5 separate regions of the Homo sapiens genome follow, and regions 2, 3, 4 and 5 are each linked to region 1. The links are contacts of gene promoters, found by promoter capture Hi-C in blood cells and fetal thymus (Javierre and others, 2016). All regions are on one chromosome and are shown on one strand. The core of a region is centred on a gene start or on the middle of the fragment in contact, and the rest is flanking DNA. Distances in the headings are between cores, read along the strand shown. Region 1 holds the start of EQTN (equatorin). Region 2 overlaps C9orf72 (C9orf72-SMCR8 complex subunit). Region 3 overlaps IFT74 (intraflagellar transport 74). Region 4 overlaps LOC124902135. Region 5 has its middle 100 kb from the start of CAAP1.

Region 1 (2,700 bases), core at 148-2,647:
ACCCGGGAGGCGGAACTTGGAGCGAGCAGAGATTGCGCCACTGCACTCCAGCCTGGGCGACAGCGCGAGACTCCGTCTCAAAAAAAAAAAAAAAAAAAAAAACAACGATAAAATTACTTTTAAAATTCAAGAAAACAATATTTTGGACTGGATAAAGCCTGCTTAGGCAAGACACAAAATGCAGAGATTATAAAGAAATAAATAAACAGAACTGATATTATAAAACTTGAAATCTTCTCAGTTATTAAAGATACTTAAACAGGCTTGGCCAGGTGTGGTGGCTCGCACCTGTAATCCTAGCACTTTGGGAGGGTGAGATGGGTGAATCGCTTGAGCCCAGGAGTTGGAGACCAGCCTGGGCAACATGATGAAACACCGTTTCTACAAAAAAAATACAAAAATTAGCTTGGTGTGATGGCATGTGCCTATAGTTCCAGCTACTCGGAAGGCTGAGGTGGTAGGACTGCTTGAACCCTGGGAGGTCAAGGCTGGCTGCAGTGAGCCATGGTCGTGCCACTGCACTCCAGCCTGGGTGACAGAGCAAGACTCTGTCTCAAAAACTGAATACGATACAATAAAATAAAATAAGCCTTAAAGATAAGCAGCATCTTGGCAGAAAACATTTATTACTTTTACCGTAAAAAGGATTAATATATTCTACATAAAAAGAGCCCTTAAAAAGAAATGAAAATACAACCTAATGGAAAAATGGGCAAGGGTATGAACAGGCAGGTCACAGAAGTAGAAATAAAATACCCAACAAATACAGGGGGAAATGATGGAAATTTAAAAAGGACACTTAAGTGAAACCAGGATAATCAACTTTTGCATATACATTTCTATTCACTTTAAAGACTTACATTGTTTTATATCTTTATAATAATTGCCATTTTTCTCATTAGCAGGAGCATAATTGGGAGTATGATCTTCATTCTTTTCTTCCTGCTTATTAACATCTTCATTTAAAGGTAGCACATTAGGCAATGCTAAAAAAAAGTATCACACACCATAGATCAGAAATATGTTGATTTCTTTTACTGCTTTCTTTTTCTAACTGCATTTTTTTCACAAAGGATTAGAGGCAGAGATTTAAAATCTAAAACATACCATAGCTCCAACAATAAAGTTTATATCCTCCTGTAGAAAACTGCCACATACCAATTTTTCATGATTATGGGTCATCCTTCTTACCTACTATTTTTATAAAAGTTTTAAATGCTCTCTCACCTTCAATAGTAGGCTTCAAAGTGCTACTTTTTAAGGAAAAAACTCCAGGTATAAAAATAAACAATATAAAATTCATTGGGAAATTGAAGTGATTTATCCAGTAATCTAGTGCGTCTACCCAGAGCCTCCTTTCTGTGGCCCAGCAGGTCCTGTGTCTAACTAGGACATTATGACATCACTGTCAGATGGGCATCAGAATGTTGGTGGGGGTGGGGGTTCCCAACAGCTTTGTGACTCAGTCTGAAGACTGCTTTATCTCAGGTACTATAATGGTTTTTAGTTATTTTTTAAATAAACCATTACAAGATTTTCTTTGAAAGTTAATAAGTGTGTTTTCATAAAAGAATGTTAATTACTCGGCTCTGGATTTTAAAGAACCATTTGTAGAGCACTCGATTCTGTGGCTAGTCAGGGTGCCACTTGTAACCCGCACGGACCTAGGGGACTGAACAAAGGGGGACGAATGCGGGAATAAAAGACAAAGACAAAAGAGTATATTTGGAAGAAGGGGTCGGGGGCACCTTGCCTCTAGTGGGCAAGGGCCCTGAGCTTTACACAGCCCTCTGTATTTATTAGGCAAGAGAGATAGTGAGAAGGAGGATGGAAGAAGGGGTCAGCTGCCCGGTCCAGAGTAGGCATGCAACACTGCATTCTCTAGATGTCGCAGTAGATAACCTCGGTGCCAGGGAGTGATTGCCTCCAGCAAACCTTCTGTGGGCAGGAGCAGTCGTGAGTTTGCCCACATCCTGCATTCATAATAAACAGTTTGCTGTTTGATCATATAGCCTCCAGTGGAATGCTGAGTGGCTCACGTCCCACGAGCCTTCGGCTCCCTGCAACCATTAATATTGTTAAGAGTAAAATGAGAACAGATCTTTTTGTTTCTCAAAGCATTGCAATATGATGTGTTTTCTTGGATAAATGCAATAAAAATATCTTTTAAAAACTAGTCAGAGGCTGGACGCAGTGGCTCACACCTGTAATCCCAGCACTTTGGGAGGCTGAGGTGGGCAGATCACTTGAGGTCAGGAGTTCAAGACCACCCTGGGCAACATGGTGAAACCTCATCTCTACTAAAAATACAAAAGTTAGCCAGGCGTGGTGGCCCACGTGCTTGAACATGGGAGGCAGAGTTTGCAGCGAGCCGAGATCACACCACTGCACTCCAGCCTGGGTGAAGAAGTGAGTCTCTGTCTCCAAAAAAAAAAACAAAAAACAAAAAACAAAACAAAAAAAACAACTAGGCAGAAAAACCAAGTTCTGATGCCAAATGCCCTACAAGTCTACAAGTTCTGGTTAATGGATTATCTTAACTATAATTCTTTAGAAAAGTTCTCTAAAACTGGTCATTTTTAGATTTTAAGGCCTATATTATATAAATAATTAATAATAACATATTATATATTAGTTATATAAATATATTATATATTTTATAAAATATATAATTATATAATATATAAAATATAGGTCTTA
Region 2 (2,711 bases), core at 49-2,548, 260 kb after region 1:
CAAGAAAAAAAAGACTTAGAATTACTTCTTTGGTTTTGTTAATAAGTCCATTCAATAACTGTTACATAATAGACTATACACAATGTAGGGGCTGGGGCTGGGGCTGTCTGGTTGGCCACTATTAAGCCCGGTACCTAGAACAGTGCCTAGGAGCTCAATATATATTTATTAAACAAATAGTTAAATATTTACTTTAAGGGTTAATCTTACCTATTTTAGGGTAAACACAATTGTATGGAAAAAGAAGAACATTTAAGAAAAAAATGCTTGATTAAATGTTTCTTCAAGCATAATTCTGCTGGTAATATTTCTTTCTTTTTAAATGCAACTTCTGTTTTGTTTTTATTCGTAAAAGACACAATTTCATATTGCTTGACTACAGTACCAGCAGGCAGAGCATTACGTACAAATCAGGAGTAAAGCTTTCGTCAGTGTAGATGATCGTATCCTGAGCCATGTCTTCTTCTGAAGTGGCTCTCCAGAAGGCTGTCAGCTCGGATCTCATGTATCTACGCTGATTATAAATATGTTCATGACAGGGTGGCATCTGCTTCACAGTATTGACATCCACATCTATGTGTGTGGTGGGATATGGAGCATACATGACTTGCCGGAAAGGCAGCACAAAGCTTCCAGTTGAATCCTGTCAAAATAAAAGGAAAATTTACTGTCTTACATGCCAAACGATATGAATAATTGTTTTTTAATTTTAAAAAATGGTCTCTGATTTAGCAAATCCATCTCTAAAAATTTATCCTAAGAAGCTATTCATGAGTGTGTGCAAAGTTTTAGTGACAGAAGTGTTCAGTATAGCATTGGTTTCAATAGCAAAACATCAGAATGACCTAAGCATCCAAAGGAAGTGGTTAAGTAAATAAAAATGAATTTATTATTTGGCATCTATAGATGAAGTTGTTGAAGTTTGTGTTGATATTCAAAGAGGCTTAGAATCTGCTGTGAAAAAAGCAGATTAGAACATGCAGAGATGATCCAGTGGGGGTGGGAGTCTTAAAGAAAATACATGCAAAAGGGAAAAAAAGACTAGAAAGAGATATACCAAATATTAACAGTGGGTATTCACTGGATTCAAAATTACAAGTGTCTTTTAATTTCTTAATTATTCTATGCACCTCAATGAGTATGTATTTTTATAAAACAAATTTACTTCTTTCCTAATCAGTTGGGGTAGCCAGTTACCATGTAATAATAACCTACTGCGTATGAGGCACTGTGCTATGAACAGAACAGAAGAAAGAGGCTATTTCCATTTTTTTACTATTATAATGCTGTGATAATCATCTTTGTATAATGTCAAAGGTATTTTCTGGAAAACTATATGATTTGTATTTGCATGGAGAACTATTAAATATTTTTTCATTAGATCATAGTTTTGAAATTTCCTCTAGGCATCTGGTATAGGTCCCTTTCAGAACTAAAATTATATAATTAAATGAGAGGGTGCTGAGGAAACAAAAGTATTAAGCACTTTATTATGCCTTTAACAGGAGAAGTTCTAATTTACAGATATGTATAACTCAAATAGAAACTACGTTTCCTTTAACTAGTTTCTATATTTAAATACTATCATTCTGAGTTCATAGCAGCACATTATTGAAAATGCACAAAAGCCTAATATAACTTGTATTTGCAACAATTTTTAAATTTTTTTATTTCATTTTGCCGTGGCTACATCCTCAAGAAAGTAGTCACTATGAGACAATCACATAACCATTAGGAAAGCTATTTCTTCACGTCTTGGGACTATAATTGAAATAACAATAATAGATTCAACAAGGTGAACAACTTTCTTCCCTTTAAGTATTATAAATAATTGCTAATTTACATTTCTCTGTTTTGCTCCTTGACAGTAGACTCAAATAAAAGAAAAATACAATTTTTTTCTAATATATATTATATATAGAAATATATATATTTTAGTACACATACATAGGAATTGCTTAAATCCTATAAGCTTCTTAAAGATGTTTAAAATTTTTTTTCAATAAAATTCAAATCTATTTAGTTAAAAAGAAATGATCTTATTTTTGATGTGCAACCTGATTTAAGCATGTGTTAAAAAAAAAAAAGTCCTGAGGCTAGACATGTAGGAACAGGGACCCACCTGGAACACAAAGGGTATTCTATGGTGTTTCACTGATGATACTAACTATAAATCCATAAGACATATAGTCTATGTGCAGAACTGTGTAAAGGAAGTCAGTCTCTGGGCATGTCAATATGAGATACATTAAATGCTAATATTTAAGATTTGTCTATAAAGAGTCTCAAAAATGATTTTAGAAAAGTGGTTTCACTTGTGATAACTAGAAACTATACCTTTAGCAGGCCTTGTACAAAGAGCCCTGACTCATATTTAAATGATGATTCTGCTTCACATAACCTGGAGCATTTTCTCTCTGCTGGAGTCAGAAAAAGGCATAATGTTCTGACTATCTATAAAAGAAAATATTTTAGCATTAAAACATGAAGTAAAAAGACCACTGATTTGCTTATGAAAGATATCTGAAATTTTAATTGTTATTATCAATAAAACATATCCTAAGAAATAAGTATTCTTTAGTCACCTGGAATCCATGGGATGTAACAGTTGTTGCTTAAAATAGGGATTCTGTGGTCAAATAAATTTAGAAAATGCTTGGTAAATTTACTGTATGGCATCTCAAAACCTTTAACATTTGGCTACATACTGT
Region 3 (2,749 bases), core at 64-2,563, 270 kb before region 1:
ATCCAAATATAAGAATGTCATGGCTGAGCACGGTGGCTCACACCTGTAATCCCAGCACTTTGGGAGGCCGAGGTGGGCGGAACATGAGGTCAGGAGTTCAAGAGCAGCCTGGCCAATAAGGTAAAACCTTGTCTCTACTAAAAATACAAAAATCCGCTGGGCATGGTGGCACGCACCTGTAGTCCCAGCAACTTGGGAGGCTAAGGCAGAAAAATCACTTGAACCTGGGAGGTGGAGGTTGCAGTGAGCTAAGATCATGCCACTGCATTCCATCCTGGGTGACAGAGTGAGACTCCATCTCCAAAAAAAAAAAAAAAAAAAAGAAAAGAAAAGAAAGAATGTCAAAGATTACAACTGGGAAATGCATCACAAAAAGATCATCACTTAGGCATAGTCATAAGATTATCTAAAGTCAAGACAGAGGAAAGAATCTTAAGAGCTATGAGGCAAAAGCATCAGGTAACCTATAAAGGAAAACCTATCAGATCAATAGCAGATTTCTTAGCAGAAACCCTACAAGCTAGAAGGAATTGGAGTCCTACCTTTAGACTCCTTAAAATAATTATCAGCCAAGAATTTTGTATCCATTGAAACTAAGCTTCATAAATGAAGCAAAGATAAAGTCATTTTCAGAGAAATGCTGAGAGAATTCACCACTACCAAGGCAGCACTACAAGAGCAGTTAAAGGGAGTTCTAAATCTTGAAACAAAACCTCAAAATACACCAAAGTAGAAACTCCTTAAATCATAAATCTCACAGGGCCTATAAAACAACACAATGGAAATGAAAAACTAAGGTATTCAGGCAATAACTAGCACAATGAATAGAACAATACCACATATCTCAATACTAACATTGAATATAAACAGCCCAAATGCTCCACTTAAATATACAGAATAACGGAATGGATAAGAATTCACCAACCAAGTATCTCCCATCTTCAAGTGACTCACCTAATGCATAAGGTCTCACATAAACTTAAGGTAAAAGGGTGGAAAAAGTTATTCCATGCAAATGGTCCCAAAAGCAAGTAGGAGTAGCTATTCTTATATTAGACAAAACAGACTTTAACAACAATTGAAAAAGACAAAGAAGGACATTATGTAATGATAAAAGGACTAATCAAACAGGAAAATATCACAGTACTAAATCTATATGCACCTAACACTAGAGCTCCCAAATGTAAAAAACAATTACCACTAGACCTAACAAATGAGATAGACAGCAATACAATTAATAGTGGGGGACTTCAATACTCCATTGACAGCACTAGACGGGTCAGAAAGTCAACAAAGAAACAATGGATTTAAATTATACCCTAGAACAAATGGACTCAACAGATATTTATAGAACATTCTACCCAACAACTGCAGAATATACATTCTGTTCATCAGCACATGGGACGTCCTGCAAGACAGACCATATGATAGGCCACAAAACAAGTCTCAATAAATTTAAGAAAATCAAAATTATATCAAGTATTCTCAGACCACAGTGGAATAAAACTGGAAATCAACTCCAAAAGGAACCTTAAAAACCATGCAGATACATGGAAATTAAATAATTTGCTCCTGAATGATCTTTAGGTCAACAATGAAATCAAGATGGAAATTTAAAAATTCTTTGAACTGAACAATAATAATGACACAACCTATTAAAACCTCTGGGATACAGCAAAAGCAGTGCCTAGAGGAACATTCAGAGCATTAAGTGCCTACATCAAAAAGTCTGAAAGAACACAAATAGACAATCTAACGTTACACCTCAAGGAACTAGAGCAACAAGCACAAACAAAACCCAAACCCACCAAAAGAAAAGGAAATTACAAACATCAGAGCAGAACTAAATTAAATTGAAACAAAAAATTGAAAGATAAATGAAGCAAAAAGCTGGTTCTTTGAAAAGATAAACAAAATTGATAGACCAATAGCAAGATTAATCAAGAAAAGAAGAGAAAAGATCCAAATAAGCTCAATTAGAAACAAAATGGGAGATACTACAACCAATACCACAGAAATACAAAAGACCAAGCTTACAGTGAGCACCTTTACACGCACAAACTAGAAAACTTAGAGGAGACGGATAGATTCCTGGAAATATACAATCCTAGATTAAAGTAGGAAGAAATAGAAACTCTGAACAGACCATTAACGAGCAGTGAGATTGAAATGGTTAAAAAAAAAAAATTGCCAACAAAAAGTCCAGGACCAGATGGAGCCACAGCTGAATTCTATCAGACTTTCAAAGAATTGGTACTGTTTTACATTTCTATGTAATATAATAAGAGCAGCATATGAGCAGCATGTGAGGGTTCCAGTTTTTCACATCCTCACTTGTTATTATCTCTTTTTCTATTATAGCCATTCCTAATGGGTATGAAGCGGTGTCTCACTATGGTTTTGATTTGTATTTGTTTGATGGCTAATGATGTTGAGGTTCCTTTCATATGCTTATTGGCCATATTCTTTGGGGGAAATGTTTACTTAGTTCATTTGCTCATTTTTTAAACTAGATTGTTTTTGATTACTGAGTTGTAACATTTCCTTATATATGCTAGATAGAGGTGTCATCAGATACATGATTTGTAAAAATTTTCCCTTGTTCTATGAATTCTATGAATTATCTTTTCATTTTCTTGGTGTCTTTGGAAGCATAAAAGTTTCCAATTTTGATTTTGTCCAGTTTTTCTATTTTTCTTTTGTTGCTCTTGCTTTTAGTGTCATATCTAAGAAACCAATGCCTAATCCA
Region 4 (2,700 bases), core at 10-2,509, 420 kb after region 1:
TAATGCTTCAAACCTCAGGATGTACTCTAAACTTTTGACCCAGTAAATCGTGCCTGGGATATTTTGGGCAGCCCTGAAGCATCTCCTGAGGGATCTTTGAGAGCACAGTACCCAGAGGGCACCTTCAAAGGTGTGGCAGATGACTGTCTCTGCTCCTGCCTCTCCTCATCCGAGCTGCTTTTAGCACTTAGCCAGAGGGACCTTCCTCACGGGCACCTCTGGCGGACACAGAGCACCCACCATGTACCGACAGTGGCTTTGTGCCACCAACCAAAGCAAGTTTAAAAGCTTCGTCTTGCCAGAAATTTTAATTTCCTTGGAAAATACAAATGTCTGGTAACAAGTGTTTTTCATAACAACTTTGTGTTTTTTACAGAGAATGGAGTCACAATTTTGGTTTGCATAGATATGAAAACTCTAGGTATGATAGAAAGCTTGATTATGCATTTAACCAAACGCTTTCACTAGTTGTAATTTTGGTTCCCAAATGCATTCACCCCAGTTTAAGCCTATTACTTCTGGCCAAGGAACCTCTAAGGCTCCCTATTGCTTTCAGTTTGAGGCCATTAGCTTCTCTGATAAGTGGAAACACTACATACTCCACTGATTCTCACCCCTATGAGTCGGAAATGTGCACTCTCTCCTTCACACTGCACTTCTCCATTCTGGTTGGCTTTTTCCTTTTTCAGGAATATCGTCCTTTCCTTTATTTGCTATCCAAATTATTCTCATTCCTCTCCTTCTGCCAGAGGTGTCTCCCTGTCTCAGAAGCCTGCCCCGTTCGTATCATCCCTTCCCGTTGCTCCCTTCTCTTCCTAGAGCACTTGCAGTTTTCACCACTCAACTGAGCTTCACTTTTTTCTGAAAATCCTGATTCGTGTGTCCTTGTCTTAGCGGAACAAGAGTACTTCTTGCCTGGAGCTGGACTTAATAGGCATATATGTTGTTTTCTTCAAGTGGGGGAAAATCCATTAGTCTAACCCCTACCTACCCTTCAACCTCCTCATTCATAAAGATGTGAGTGAAGATCAGAGTGATTTATCCGATTGGCAAATTCAAGAAGAGCAAACTGTGTGCAAGTAGCCCTGCTCTTTTTTTCCCTCTTCTCTTTGGAAGGCTGCAGAAAATATTAATTCTCCACTCTTCCGCCAAGAGGAAGTCTTCTCCAGTTCTCTTGGGAGAAGTGTGCAAATCTGCCTGATGTGATGTCTGACTTTCAGGCATACGTATTCTTGCTCACTAAGCTACATCTTTCAATCTAACCATAATCTGTCATTCCTTTGTTTTATTTTTCAGTTTATTCAGTGCTTGCATGAGGAAAAGAGGTGGCATTTATTGGGGATGCTAAAACAAGGAAGTGACAGTCTTGGCAAAGGTCAGTTGATGCAGGAGGCAGCCATCACCCATAGTGCATGGCAAAGGCCCTGTATGGCTGCTGCATCTCATTTTATTTTGAACAGGCTAAATCTCAGCATAAGACCACTCCAAAACAGACTCTTGACTCCCAGAGGGGGTCATCTGGTAGGCAGAGTTTTTGGTTTGCATCCATCTGGATGCTCAGTATTCCGGCCAAATAATGTATCTTGGTTTTGGCACTGTAAACGTTTAGATTTCCTCCTGATAAAAAGTGTCCAAGAGATTTAGATGCTTGGAGATGCTGCTCCTGGAACCCAACATGGGCCTGGATCAGTGGGAGATGCTGGTTTTGTAGTTTACCACAGCTGGAGGCCCCATTGTCCAGCCCACTTGAACCCTGTGGTCAACTCTGAGTGAGAAACAGAGACCAGGATCAGGTTTCACATACTTCAGAATATAAATTTTAGATTAAGTGTTCCCTCAGTCAACAGCCTTCCCTATTTGTATTGTCAGCAGCATGTAGACTTGTAAAGTTACAAGAGAAGATCAAGAACCATGTACCAGAGTTGAGATATTGCCATTAGGCTGATAAGAGATTTACTGGGTTTGGAATTAGAGGCCAATAACAAAGCAACAACAACTCAAGACTTCATAAAGTCTTAATTTGTTCTCAAGAGATTTAGGTATTAGGTGGATCAAAGAGCAAAGTTAGTTAAAGGATGCATCGTTAAGCTTCAATTCCTCCTCTATCTCAGGCAGGGTATTAGATTGGATGATGCAGACCTGCAGATGACTGGGAAAACCTGCTACCCAGGTTCTGGCAGATTCCCAGCTGACAGGTGGGAGTGTAATATAGAGTATCAGGCATGGTTATTTTAAGAGTTTGCATGGACAGACCACATTTGGGTTTAGGCACACTTAGGATAGAGGGCATGGGATTGTGCTCAAGAAGTGAAATAAAGTGACTTTCAGAGAAAGTTTTGCATTTAGGATCTCACTTTATAGCTCCATATGTCTCCTGCACTCCAGGTTTGCACACCCAGACCTCTTCACAGGTTGGTTAGGATAACCAATTCATCCCATTTTGCCTGGGATTTTCCTAGTTTTAGCACTGCAAGTCTGGCATCGTGGTAAACCTCTCAGTGCTGGGCAAGCTAGGATAGCTGGTCACTCTATAATGTGACATAAGAATGGTTGGTCATGAGATGTTTGTTGAGTGGATAGGGCACGTGGGTAAGTACTGCGACACCAGTGCAAGTGTCATGCAGAGGAAAAAACACATGCTTCAGCCTGAGGTAGACTTGGGTAAAAATTCTCATCCTGAATTCCTAACTGTGTAATCTT
Region 5 (2,700 bases), core at 45-2,544, 510 kb before region 1:
AAACTTTAATGACATAACAGCTGACTGCAATGTGTGGACCATATTTAGATCCTAATTTACACAAACCAAATGTGAAAAAGGTCTAGTGATGATCAGGAAATTTGAACCTAGAGAGTACAGGGAGATCACAGAGTATGAGATGACTTTAGGAGAAAGTCCTTATCCATTACAAGTCTATTCTGAAGTATTTAAAAGTGAAATTTCAAGAAATTTGAAATTTTCTTTAATGTTTTCAAAAAAAAGTAGGGGATTCAATGAAACAAGATGGGAAAATGTTGATCATTGTTGAAACTGAGTTACAGGTACATATAGTTTCCTTCCAGTCTCTTGAGAATATTTCAATATTTCCACAATTAAAAAGTTATTTAAAAGCCAACATATTAACCATTAATCTTTTTAAAGTGCATAAATATCATTACTATAACATAATTTATCTCAGTATAAAATGGAAATAATCTAAATGTTTTACAGTAGCAAAAACTTATTTAAAAATATGATAAACTGGCTGGGTGTGGTGGCTCATGCCTGTAATCCCAGCATTTTGGGAGGCTGAGGCAGGCGAATCACCTGAGGTCAGGAGTTCAAGACCAGCTTGGCCAACATGGTGAAACCCTGTCTCTACTAAAAATACAAAAATTAGCTGGACCTGGTGGCGGGTTCCTGTAATCCCAGCTACTTGGGAGACTGAGGCAGGAGAATCGCTTGAACTCGGGAGGCGGAGGTTGCAGTGGGCCGAGATTGTGTCATTGCACTCCAGCCTGGGCAACAAGAAAGAAACTCCATCATAGAAAACAAAAACAAAAAACCCAAAAAACAAAAAAATAAAACTATGATTAAACCAATCTGATGGAAATTATGCAGCCATTAAAATGACAGAAAGGAGGAGGACAACAAAGAAAAAGCTTACAGAGTTGTTATTTTTAGAATAAAGACTAAATCTACATTAGAATCATACTCTTTAAAATATGTATGAATATAAACAAAGAGTAGAAGAGTAAATAAGAAAAACAGTAAGTTGATATGTCTTTAAAGTGTGGGTTTTCTTACTGGTACTATGATATTGTTTCTGAAACAAAATGAATGCTGACATAAAACAACAAAAAATTGATCTAGATCTACATATGCTGAAATGTAGCAAGACAGCGTTACATTTGCTTTGGAAATAGCATTGGCTTTGGAGTCAGACACTCTTGGCAAGTTATTTAAACAATCGTACAGTCAGTTTCTTCTTTCTCCATCTCAACAACTGATATAGCCACCCTTCAGGAATGGTACAAGGATTAGAGATGTAAGTCCTTAGAGATGTGATTGATGTGGTAACAGTAAGCGGGTGATAGGACAACCATCTTGGCATCACAATATTCGGCACATAGTAAACCCTCAATAAACAGTACTTATTACTATTATCATATTAAAGGTGGGAGAGTTCTGAGAAAATAGAAAACAGAGATGTGAGCTGATGGTCAAATTCCTGCAGACTTTTATGGCAATATAGCTTTCACACACACACAAAATGAAGATAGGGAAAAGTATAATGAGGAATTCAAATCTTATCAAGGCCAGTTGGAAGTACGGGTTGGCTGGAGAGGGGCTAAGACTTGTATGAGGGACATGCAGGGATCACAGGCAGGCAGTGAGGAGGTAAATAAAACCAACCTGTAGGAAAAACTGAGTTCAAACTACTCTGAAGCTTCAAGGCAAAACCTACAGGATCAGAGGAAGAGGGAGATAAGCATGAAAGGAGAAAAGGATTTAGGGTACAAGGACTGTTTGGGTACCTACATATGTGGCTGAGGGGTTGGGGCTTTTTGGCAGTGAGAGGCAATCCCTACTTGGAGCTACGATAGATGATACAGTTTCAGAGCTTAAATGAACTGAAATTCATGTAAGATGATCTCATCCTGTCTCCCCATTCTACAAGATGAGAAAATAAACTTCAGAAAGGGGAGGGCCCTGGGTACCACGGCAAGGTTGTATGGCACAGCTATGCCTAGAATTCTGGCTTACCCTGAAACCAGTGCTCTTGTGCCTCGTTATGCTGCCTCCAAGGTGGATGTCCCATTATCATCACCATGTCAATTATTTTTACCCACATTTATTAAACAAACGAAGCTCTCTGTGTCTTAAAGCATAAAGTATAAGCACTTATTCTTTTCACCAATATCTTTCATATCAGACGCCCCTTACTGACTTCAAATTATTTTGTTGCATGTAACAAAAGAGAATGCAATGAACATTTGTTCTGCAAATGTTCTATCAGCACCTACTATATGTCAGGCACATAAAAACAAATGGCATAGACACTGTTGTCAAGAAGCCTGCAATACAGTGAAGAATATTATGCACTTTGTAATATTCAATGTGACATGGAATTAAAGAGAATGGAGCTCAGGCTGGGTGCGGTGGCTCACTCCAGTAGTCCCAGCATTTTGGGAGGCTGAGATGGGCAGATCACTTGAGCCCAGGAGTTCGAGACCAGCCTGGGTAACACGGCAAGACCCGATCTCCACAGAAAATATAAAAATTAGCATGCACCTGTAGTCCCAGCTACTCAAGAGGCTGAGGTGGGAGGATTGCTTGAGCCTAGGAGGTTGAGGCTGCAATAAACCAAGATGGCACCACTGCACTCCAGCCTGGGTAACATAGTAAGACTTTGTCTTTAAAAAAAAAAAAAAAAAAAAAAAAAAAAACCCAGCTCAT

Evidence for each region. Contacts are between HindIII fragments. The CHiCAGO score rates a contact against its expected background, and 5 or more counts as called.
Region 2: a fragment that was not itself captured here is called in contact with the fragment with the promoter of EQTN in region 1 in 1 of 17 cell types (total B cells); the score reaches 5.7 in total B cells.
Region 3: a fragment that was not itself captured here is called in contact with the fragment with the promoter of EQTN in region 1 in 1 of 17 cell types (megakaryocytes); the score reaches 5.4 in megakaryocytes.
Region 4: a contact is called between a fragment that was not itself captured here and the fragment with the promoter of EQTN in region 1, in 1 of 17 cell types (naive B cells). The highest score is 5.1, in naive B cells.
Region 5: a contact is called between a fragment that was not itself captured here and the fragment with the promoter of EQTN in region 1, in 1 of 17 cell types (endothelial precursors). The highest score is 5.6, in endothelial precursors.

What each region holds. Positions count from the first base shown.
Region 1 is chr9:27,295,753-27,298,452 of GRCh38, forward strand. EQTN (equatorin) reads right to left here and starts at 1,398. Exons shown (of 8, transcript NM_020641.3): 1 at 1,228-1,398; 2 at 861-986. The coding sequence starts at 1,303. The HindIII fragment of the contact is 8,347 bases long and covers 1-2,700 here.
Region 2 is chr9:27,556,154-27,558,864 of GRCh38, forward strand. It overlaps C9orf72 (C9orf72-SMCR8 complex subunit), which reads right to left. Exons shown (of 11, transcript NM_018325.5): 7 at 2,338-2,454; 8 at 408-643. Among named protein-coding and RNA genes, the nearest start is that of C9orf72, 16 kb to the right of the region's middle. The HindIII fragment of the contact is 1,343 bases long and covers 628-1,970 here.
Region 3 is chr9:27,025,142-27,027,890 of GRCh38, forward strand. The region is part of intron 12 of IFT74 (intraflagellar transport 74); the gene reads left to right. Among named protein-coding and RNA genes, the nearest start is that of LRRC19, 21 kb to the left of the region's middle. The HindIII fragment of the contact is 1,434 bases long and covers 597-2,030 here.
Region 4 is chr9:27,716,435-27,719,134 of GRCh38, forward strand. The region is part of intron 1 of LOC124902135; the gene reads left to right. Among named protein-coding and RNA genes, the nearest start is that of C9orf72, 140 kb to the left of the region's middle. The HindIII fragment of the contact is 1,654 bases long and covers 433-2,086 here.
Region 5 is chr9:26,787,137-26,789,836 of GRCh38, forward strand. No RefSeq gene overlaps it. Among named protein-coding and RNA genes, the nearest start is that of CAAP1, 100 kb to the right of the region's middle. The HindIII fragment of the contact is 788 bases long and covers 901-1,688 here.